2 separate regions of the Homo sapiens genome follow, and region 1 is linked to region 2. Evidence: promoter capture Hi-C in human tissues and cell types (Jung and others, 2019). All regions are on one chromosome and are shown on one strand. The core of a region is centred on a gene start or on the middle of the fragment in contact, and the rest is flanking DNA. Distances in the headings are between cores, read along the strand shown. Region 1 overlaps GALNT9 (polypeptide N-acetylgalactosaminyltransferase 9). Region 2 holds the start of P2RX2 (purinergic receptor P2X 2).

The links. The method cuts DNA at HindIII sites, captures the fragments that hold promoters and counts their contacts. A contact is called where the count stands out against the background at its distance.
Region 1: a fragment that was not itself captured here is called in contact with the fragment with the promoter of P2RX2 in region 2 in 1 of the 25 tissues and cell types used here (dorsolateral prefrontal cortex).

Annotation. Positions count from the first base shown.
Region 1 is chr12:132,269,407-132,273,725 of GRCh38, reverse strand. The region is part of intron 2 of GALNT9 (polypeptide N-acetylgalactosaminyltransferase 9); the gene reads left to right. Among named protein-coding and RNA genes, the nearest start is that of GALNT9-AS1, 3.8 kb to the left of the region's middle. RefSeq lists an enhancer at 1-744. The HindIII fragment of the contact is 6,377 bases long and covers 1-4,319 here.
Region 2 is chr12:132,615,247-132,620,172 of GRCh38, reverse strand. It overlaps P2RX2 (purinergic receptor P2X 2), which reads right to left and starts at 1,397. Exons shown (of 11, transcript NM_170682.4): 1 at 1,184-1,397; 2 at 599-734; 3 at 423-494; 4 at 254-329; 5 at 77-173. The coding sequence starts at 1,356. The HindIII fragment of the contact is 14,975 bases long and covers 1-3,800 here.

The DNA of each region.
Region 1 (4,319 bases), core at 668-3,167, 350 kb after region 2:
CTTTCCAAATACCATAAACTTAGTTTATTTTCTGTCTGACAGAAACGGCGCCACTTAAGTCCTGCAAAGAACCCTCGGGTTCCACTCAGGCTGAGTTATTCGGGGGCCACTGCTGAACGGTTTGCATTTGTTTCCTCTGTGACATCGGAGTGGGGAGGACGCTGCCTCCAGCACAGGGCCAGGGGCCAGGGCTGCTCACACAGAGCTGCTGGAGCCTACAGGGTCCCGGCTGTGGGTCCTGGGCTGCCCGCCCCCAGGAAGGGCACCTTGCCACCATTGAAGTGGGGCGAGCTGATTCGGGCACAGCTGGAAACCAGGAGGCAGCCAGCAGCAGCGGCCCTGAGCAAGAACAGGAACCCCAGGCCGAGGCGGGCGCATCACACGAGACCAGCCTGGCCAACATGGTGAAACCCCGTCTCTACTGAAAATACAAAAATTAGCCGGGCATGGTGGCACCCACCTGTAATCTCAGCTACTCGGGAGGGTGAGGCAGGAGAATTGCTTGAACCCGGGAGGTGGCGGTTGCAGTGAGCCGAGATTGTGCCACTGCACTCCGGCCTGGGCAACAGAGTAGGACTCTGTCTCAAAAATAAAGAAGAAAGAAAGAAGGAGAGTCCGGAAGCCACTGCTGCCCCCACCAGCAGAGTGGAACTGTGATTTCATAGAACAGACACAGCCTGGCAGCGAGAATGACCACAGTGCTCACAGCCACTCAGGTGGAATCTCAGGAACTCAATGTCAGGAGGAGGAGTGGGGCCCTAAGGCCCGTGTGCGGGAGACAGTGGCCATGGCGTCGAGCTCAAAGGTGAGCCGGGTGTGGCTGGGGATGGGAAGGCGTGGCGCAGAGCCACGGGGAAGGCACACGAGGTCCAGAGACGGCAGCCTGCGAAGTGGAGGGAGGGTGGACGCCGGGGTGATCACCCACTTTCCTAGACTGAGCGTTGGGCACAGGCTTTGTATTGCTTCATTCATCGTCATATTTGATGTATGTTTGATAAATATCCCTTTAAAAATTAAAGACAGTTTGTTAATTGAGAAGGGTACTGTATTATGGGTAAAAGAAATTATTTTATGCTAACTAGTGCTGGGTGAAAAATGAGGTGTATGTGTTCCATTATTTCCAATTTAAACAGCAGTTTGTCTACAAAGGTTTGTGATGAGTGTCAGGTGTTAGGTGCACATTAATGGCATGAAGTAAGAGCATTCTCCTGCGGAAAACACAGAAAAGTCCAGAAAGAATGTGCAAGCAACCTGCCCAGGCACTTCCACAGCTGCTGGGTGTCACGGGAAGCCGGGAACTAATTTAAGCGCCCGGCAGTAGGGTGGTGGCGCTGTGATATTTTCTTCTGCACAAGTTTGCTGCAGGGGCATCGTGGAGGGCCTGTGTGGAGCCACCGTCAGAATGCCAAGGAGCACCTGCCCTGACCCTGTCCCGCCCCGCACCATTGCCCACTCTGTCCCGTTGAGGGGGTGCTTCCCTGGGTCGTTGTGAGACCTGGGCCAGGCCCACAGGGTTCTGCTCGCTCGTAACAGAAGCCTGGGTCCCGTGATGAGCAGGCGTGGCCCACAGAGGGGTCCCCGCCGTGCATCTGTCCCCACGGTGCGTCCCCCGACCGCTCTGGGGCTGCTCTGAGTTGGGGGAGCCGGGCGGGGCGTGACGGCATTCTCCTCTCTCCTGTCTCCTCCTCCCCCCGCCCTCGAGCGCAGCCTCTGGCCCTGGCAGTGGCTGGTGACTGGAGTTTGGTCAGTTGGCAAACGTGTCCCCAAGGGTCAGAGACACACACAGTTCACGTGTGGCCGCCCTGCTGAGAACACGTGTGGCCCCACATGGCTGCTGCCGCAGTAACACACACAGCACTGAAGGGCGCACGGGGGACGGGCCCTCCTGGCAGCCACGGCCTCCCACGCGTGGGAGCCTCCCTGCACGTTCTGTGCGGGGCTCTGCTCGCCTTGGGGCCCTGGCCGTCGCTGGCCCTGTTGACTTGGGACCTCGGCCAAGCCTGAACCTGAAACAGCCTTCGGCAGGGTCCATTTACAGACCCCATGCCGGAGCATCACGGCAAGGCACGAGGCCACAGCTGCCCCAACGCCGTTTGTGTCTAAAAAGCAGGGCACAGCGCCAGGCCAGTGTTTTGTGGGCAGACCTGGAGGGACACTTGTCACACCCACGTCGGCGTCACCTCGGGGGACAGGGGCGGGGCCTGAGGGTGGGCGTCGGAGGGAGGCTTGGTGGATCTGTCCTGGCTTCATTGTTTTAAAGAGGACAATCTCTTAATTTTATGGTGTGATAAAATTGGTTCAAAATGGGATAAAGAAACCTGGAAGAAACACACAAGAAGGCAGATGTACAGGTGTGCGGGTGGGAGCGGCGGAGGCAGAGTGACGGGTGGGAGCCGGGCGGGGCGTGGCAGCGTTCTCCTCTCTCCTGTCTCCTCCTCCCCCCACCCTCGAGCCCTGGCAGTGACGGGTGACTGGAGTTTCGTCGGCTGGCAAACGTGTCCCCAAGGCTCAGAGACACACACAGGCTGTTCACGTGTGACCGCCCTGCTGAGAACGTGTGGCCCCACATGGCCACTGCTGCCGCAGTAACACACACGGCACTGAAGGGCGCATGGGGGACTGGCACAGAGTGACGGGCGCAGCGTCTGTCATGGAGAAGCAGCGGACGGCGGCAGCTGAGGCACCTGCTCTCCCCTCTGCTTGATTTTTAAGGACTGTGCTGCTGTTGTCTCGTTCTCTCTGCCCCTGTCTCCTCCTTCCCTCCTTTCTCCCCCTCGCTGTCTCTCTGCTCCATCTCCTCCTTGCTCTCTCTGAATCTCTGCCTCCTGTCTCCTCTCCCACTCCCCTTCCTCCCTGTGTGTGGCAATGACTGACCGTCATCTGCCTCTTATCTTTTCTCCCGCTCTTCCTCCCTGATAGAATTCTGAAATGTATCTGGGCTCCAGCCAGAGTGAAGACCACATTTCCTGGCATCCCTTGCAGGGTGTCGTGGCTGTGGCTGTGGCCGTGGCCGTGTCCGTGGCTGTGGCTGTGGCCATGGCTGTGGCTGTGTGGTCGGGCTCTGGCCGGGAGATGACGGCCGACAGCTCCACCTGGGACCTCAGACACATCCAATCCATTTCTTCTTAAAGAAAGAATTGAAGTCAATTGAAGTCAAATTGAGTTCCTATTGATTACAGTCGTAGACTCAGAACCATTATGTACGCAAGAGCTAACGCGTGAAGCCAGCTGTTCTCAGGGGCTCCTGTCCCTGGGGTTTTATCTCCAGGTGGCACCTGGCAGGGCACAGAGGTGGCATCACCTGCTGGGTACTCCAGGCCCCAGCTCTCTGGTTTGCCCCTGGGCAGGGCTCTGTGAAGCCTGCAGGATTCTGTGCCGGCCTTTGCCTTCTGGAGGAGGTTCCTGGTGATCGTATTTCAGGGAGACACGGGGCTATTTCAGGGAGACACGGGGCCTCTGTGACAACTTCTGTTTCTCACACCCAGGATCAGAGGTGCTCACTGTTGCCAAGCTCAGTGGTTATTGATTCCATAGTTTACAACTGTCTTGGCCACAGTCAATGGACTGTTTTACAAAAGATGTCTGTTCAGCACTATATCCTATAATAGGTGTGACCCTGTTTCATTTCTCGGCCCTAAATGGGACTTGTTCTTGTTGGAATAACTAAACAAGAGCAGTCTCAGGAGCAGTTTTCTTTGAAGAGTTTCTTCCAGAGCGTGGCTCCTGAGACAGAGCTGGAGACCGAAGTCACCTGGGGGTGCCCTCAGTGAGAGGGTCCGTCTGTGCTGTTCAGGCCTCAAAGCTGTTTGTAGAACAGGCTGGGCCTAAGTTATCTGGGAAACTGGCTGATCCCGTGCGCCCATCTCCCTCGCCTGTGTGTGCTGCAGGCAAAGGCCAGGCCTGCATAGCTGGTTAGACACGGGAAAGTGAGCGGCCAGGACAGGGTCCCAGCAGGCGCCACGTGCCACCCCACCGGGATCCGGCCCCACGCGTCTGAGACCTGCCCCAGGTACGCGTTCCCAGCGGCGTCTATTTCACGATTCCGCCCTCGGCCCCGAATCCATGGAGCCAAATTCCTGCTTTCTTCACGGTCACTTCTGGTATTTGAGCTGAAACCATGTCTGACCATGGGCCCAGCTTCCTATGCCCCACCCTCCTGCTCGGAGCAGCACCTGCCCCAGGAAAAGGCCACCCCGCCCTGGGCTCGGGACCGGCACGGGCTCCTCCCTGACGCCCCTCCACCTTCTCTTGCTTTTTCCAGCAGCACCAGACGCAAATGGGACTCCGTGGCTCCCGCCCGGAGGACGCTGCTGACCTCC
Region 2 (4,926 bases), core at 148-2,647:
CCCCGCCCGTTTGGCCTCTGGTCAGGGGAAAAGGATCAGAGGGGAGGCTGGGCCCCAGGCCGGGGCGCAGGTGCACCTGACAGAGGCCCCATCTTCCACCGGGCACCAGCCGAACACCTCGCAGGTCTTGGAGGGCCCCTGGTAATAGGGCACACAGCGCCCAGTCCTCAGGCCTGGGAGGCAGAGGTCACTGAGGCATTAGCGGGGACGCAGCCCTGCCCCACCCGCCCAGCCCCAGCTGGCGCACACCGACCGTTTCCCAGCATGTCCAGCTCCCCAGCCACGCAGTCGGCGTCGGAGAGGCAGGTGGCGTTGTGGACCCTTATGCTCTAGGGTGGAGGCGGCCCAGTCAGGGACCCCGCAAGGGACAGCTGGCCCGCCTAGCTGAGGCGGGGTCCCCCAGCGCCGCGGGATCCCCTCACCTCGGGGCAGGTTCCCTGGGTCTGGGAGTGGGTGGCCTCGACCCTGGTGATGATGCTGAACACGCTGCCCCCCTGGGCTCAGAAAGAGGGGGCGGTCGGCCAGGCGGCAGCCGCTGCCCCCTCCGCCCACTAGGGTAGGGTGCACGGCGGGGCGGGGGGCAGGGGGCGGCCCGCACCTCGGGGGGCTTCACGTACTCCTCCACGTCCCACACTTTGTGCTCGGACGTGGTGATCCCCTTGACCTTGGTGATGATGGAGCTCTCGGGGCCCGTCTCGCTCTCCTGGTAGCTTTTCTGCACGATGAATACGTACCTGCGGGCAGGGGCGGCGCCGGCTCCGGAGGCGACCCTGGGAAGGCTGAGTCCCGCCCGCAGGCACGGCAGGGGCCCTCCCGCGACCCGGGTCCGCTCTGCGGGGCTCTTGGGGCCTGCCCCGCGCCCTCGGTCCCAGCCCCAGCCCCTGCCCCGCGCCCCCGGTCCCAGCCCCAGCCCCTGCCCCGCGCCCCTGGTCCCAGCCCCAGCCCCGCGCCTCCAGCCCAGCACCCCGAGTCCCAGCCCCTGCCCCACGCCCCCAGTCCCAGCCCCTGCCCCGCGCCCCCAATCCCAGCCCCTGCCCCGCGCCCCCGGTCCCAGCCCCAGCCCCTGCCCCGCGCCCCCGGTCCCAGCCCCAGCCCCAGCCCCGCGCCTCCAGCCCAGCGCCCCCAATCCCAGCCCCTCCCCTGCGCCCCGCACCCCGCGCCCCGCACCCCGCGCCCCGCGCACCACACGAAGTAGAGCAGGATGAGCAGCTGCACGGCGCGGTACAGGACCCCCAGGCGCCGGTTCCTCACCACGATCACCTTGGGCGTCTCGTAGTCCCAGAGGGCGGACCAGCAGCCCCGGGCCAGGCGCCGGGCGGTCGCCCCGGCGGGGTACTTGGGCTGGGCGGCGGCCATGGCGCGGGCGGCCCCCACCTCCAGGAAGGCGCTGCAGGGCTGAGGGTCGGCCCCGCTGCGCACCGAGAGCGGGGGGCGCGCGGCGGGCGGGTAGCTCGCGGCTCCGCCTCCGGGGTGCGGCCTCGAGCCCGCCCCGCCTCGCCCCGGCCCCGCCCCGCCCCGCAGGTGTCCCGGGAGTCCCGGGTGTCCCAGGTGGGGCTGGGAGCGGGGCCTCGCGGGGACAGAGCCGGGGGCGCGGCAGCCCAGCCCCAGCTCTTGGTCCAGGTGGGGGCCGAGCGCGGAACCGGCGGTCTCGAAGTTGGAGGGTCGGGATTCCCCGGGTGGGAACTTTTTCCGAGCTCGAGGAGAAAGACATGGGAAGTCCCGCCGGCCTCCGCGGCGCCCCCCACCCCGTCCAGGCCGGTTCCTGCCGCGGCTGCCGGGGCTTCGAGCGCAACCTGCACTCCCGCCTTTGCCAGCAGACGCCTCGCTTCCAGCTCCTGCCTCCGCCGCAGCTCCAGCCCTCGAGCTGGAGAGGGATCCACGGCCGATCCGTTTTCTTCTTTGCAAGCCAGAGTTTTCTTTCTTTCTTTCTTTCTTTTTTTTTTTTTTTGGTAACTTTTCGAACCTCCACCCCACCCACATTATTTTGAAGCAAATCCCAAGCATCACAGTTTTTCACAAAATAATTTTAAAATAGTTTATTATGATAAAATCAGCATAGCATGTAATTAACTATTTTAAAGTAAACAATTCAGTGACATTCACAACATTGTGCAACCACCACCGCCTCTGTTTCGTCCCCAAACACTTTCCCCACCCCAAAATAAAACTCCCATCCATTAAGCAGTCACGACCCGTTCCACACTCCTCCCATGCCCTGGCAACCACTGGTCGCTTTTCTGTCTCAGTGAATGGACTTGCCTGTTCTGGATATTTCATATCAAGGAAATGCAATATTTGTTTCTGGGTTAATGCCTTTTCTGTCTGGCTTCATTCACTGAGCATGTTTTCAAGGTTCATCCACATTGTAGCATGTGTCAGGGCATCACCCCTTCTTATGGCCAGGAGAAATGTCTAGGCTATCCAAAGAAGGAATTTAGATTGCTTTCAAACTAACTCTGTGAATAGTGCTGTTATAAACACTGGTGCATAAGTATTTGTTTGAACTGTTAAATTAACTCAATTAACAGGCTGCCTCTGTGCCTTGAGTTTCTAGGTAACAACAAACTGCAACCTAATGTACCACAGAAACAAGCTAAAAGCTTAACCTATGAGTATATTTTGGAACAAATAGCTGGGTCTCAGCCAGTCACAGGCTGCTAACTGATCTGATCATGCCATATAAGGCAAACATTTCAAGCAGTAACAAAATCAAGCTAATTGTGATTTTTTTTTTTTTGTATCTCACTTCTGTGTTCTATCTATAAAAACTTCCTGCCCACATTACAGAGTGGAGCTCTCGAACCTCCCCCATTGGTTCTGAGTGCTGCCCAATTCATGAGTTGTGTTTTGCTCAATTAAACTCTGTTGGCTGGGCACAGTGGCTCATACCTGTAATCCCAGCACTTTGGGAGGCCAACATGGGTGGATCACTTGAGATCAGGGGTTCGAGACCAGCCTGGCCAACATGGCGAAACCTCGTCTCCACTAAAAACACAAAAGTTAGCCAGGTGTTGTGGCATCTGTAATCTCAGCTACTCGGGAGGCTGAGGCAGGAGAATCACTGGAATCTGGGAGGTGGAGGTTGCAGTGAACTGAGATTGCACCACTGCACTCCAGCCTGCATGACAGAGGGAGACTCTGTCACACACACACACACACACACACACACACACACACACACACACAAACTCTTAAATTTAATTTGTCCAAAGTTTTTGTTTTAACAGTTTGGTGTCAGAAGTGGGATCTGAAGTAGACCTCCAGCCACCCCCTAGGAGCACTGAATGCTCAGTAGGGCCTGTGTGCCTGCTGATCTCTCAAAGCATCTAGAGTCATAGGTGAGTTCTCTCTGCTGGATTTGTGCTCTATGACCATGTGTTTTGAGCCCTCTACTTTGAGCAATTCTTTTTTTTTTTGAGATGGAGTCTCACTCTGTTGCCCAGGCTGGAGTGCGGTGGCGTGATCTCAGCTCACTGCAACCTCCGCCTCCCAGATTCAAGCAATTATCCTGTCTCAGCCTCCCAAGTAGCTGGGATTACAGGCACATGCCACCGCGCCCGGCTAATTTTTTTGTATTTTAGTGGAGACGGGGTTTCACTGTGTTGCCTGGGCTGGTCTCAAACTCCTGAGCTCAGGCAATCCACCTGCCTTGGCCTCCCAAAGTGCTGGGATTACAGGCATGAGCCACGGCGCCCGGCCTTGAGCAATTCTTAGACCGGAATGGGTCCAGGATTGAATTGGATCCAAAACTTAACTCTATTGTATCCAGTTAGAGGCCTTGAGTAGGTCCCTTTTGGCTTGGGTTTGTCTGAATCCAAGGAGTCTGCGTGCCGCCTTCTGGGACGTTTGCTAATTATGTGTGTAAGAACTATGGACCCAGAACTTGTGCACATTTTAGAAAAATCGGCTAACCCCAAACTCAAAAAGACCCCTCCAGATTCTTGGAACCGTACACCTTTCGGAGACCTTAAGGTGAAGCTAACCAGGGAAGTTTTCCCCAGAAGCAGACGGGATCCTAAATGTGGACAGCTTTTCCAAGATCATGGGTTGAGACTTCTCTGCCATCATGACAGCCTTAGCCTCCCCCTGGCCCCTTATTTCCTGCTGTCTGAATCTTTTCCTTTTCATTACAGGAAAATCCACAGCACCATAATGTGTGGATGGCGTCAGCTAAGGCTTACGCTCTAGGAAAAACCCAGAGTGGTAGTTGGGTTTGTGGGTTAATGTCAAAAGCCAGGAAACTACATCAATCCCTGTCATTTTTCACGATGACGGTCACTCTGGAACTCCCAGGGGAGAGTGGAGAGCGTCCCCATGTGTCCCAGGGGAGACTGGAGAGTGTCCCCATGTGTCCCAGGGAAGAGTGGAGAGAGTCCTCGTGTGTCCCAGGGAAGACTAGAGAGCGTCCCCGTGTGTCCCGGGGGAGAGTGGACAGCCCATATGTCCCAGGGGAGAGTATCCCCGTGTGTCCCAGGGAAGAGTGGAGAGCGTCCCCGTGTGTCCCGGGAGAGAATGGACAGTGTCCCCGTGTGTCCCAGGGGAGAGTGGACAGTGTCCCCCTGTGTCCCGGGGGAGAGTGGGGAGCGTCCCCATGTGTCCCAGGGAAGAGTGTTCCCGTCCCTGTGTCCCAGGGGAGAGTGGAGAGCATTCCCGTGTCCCAGGGGAGAGTGGGGAGTGTCCCCGTCCCTGTGTCCCTAGGAAGAGTGGACAAACACACTCTCCTTTATGTTCCAGACACCGCTGCTATCACTTTCATATACCCGCTGAAACGGTGTTCTGACCTTTCCAATTAATAATCCAAACACTGCTCATATGTAAAGCGTGCCTGAACGATGCCTTCAGAAGGTAGATGAGGCTCCAGGCATCACATACTCAAGACCTGGGAGTTCTCTCTGTGGGTGGGAGACACGGCATGTGTGATGTCAC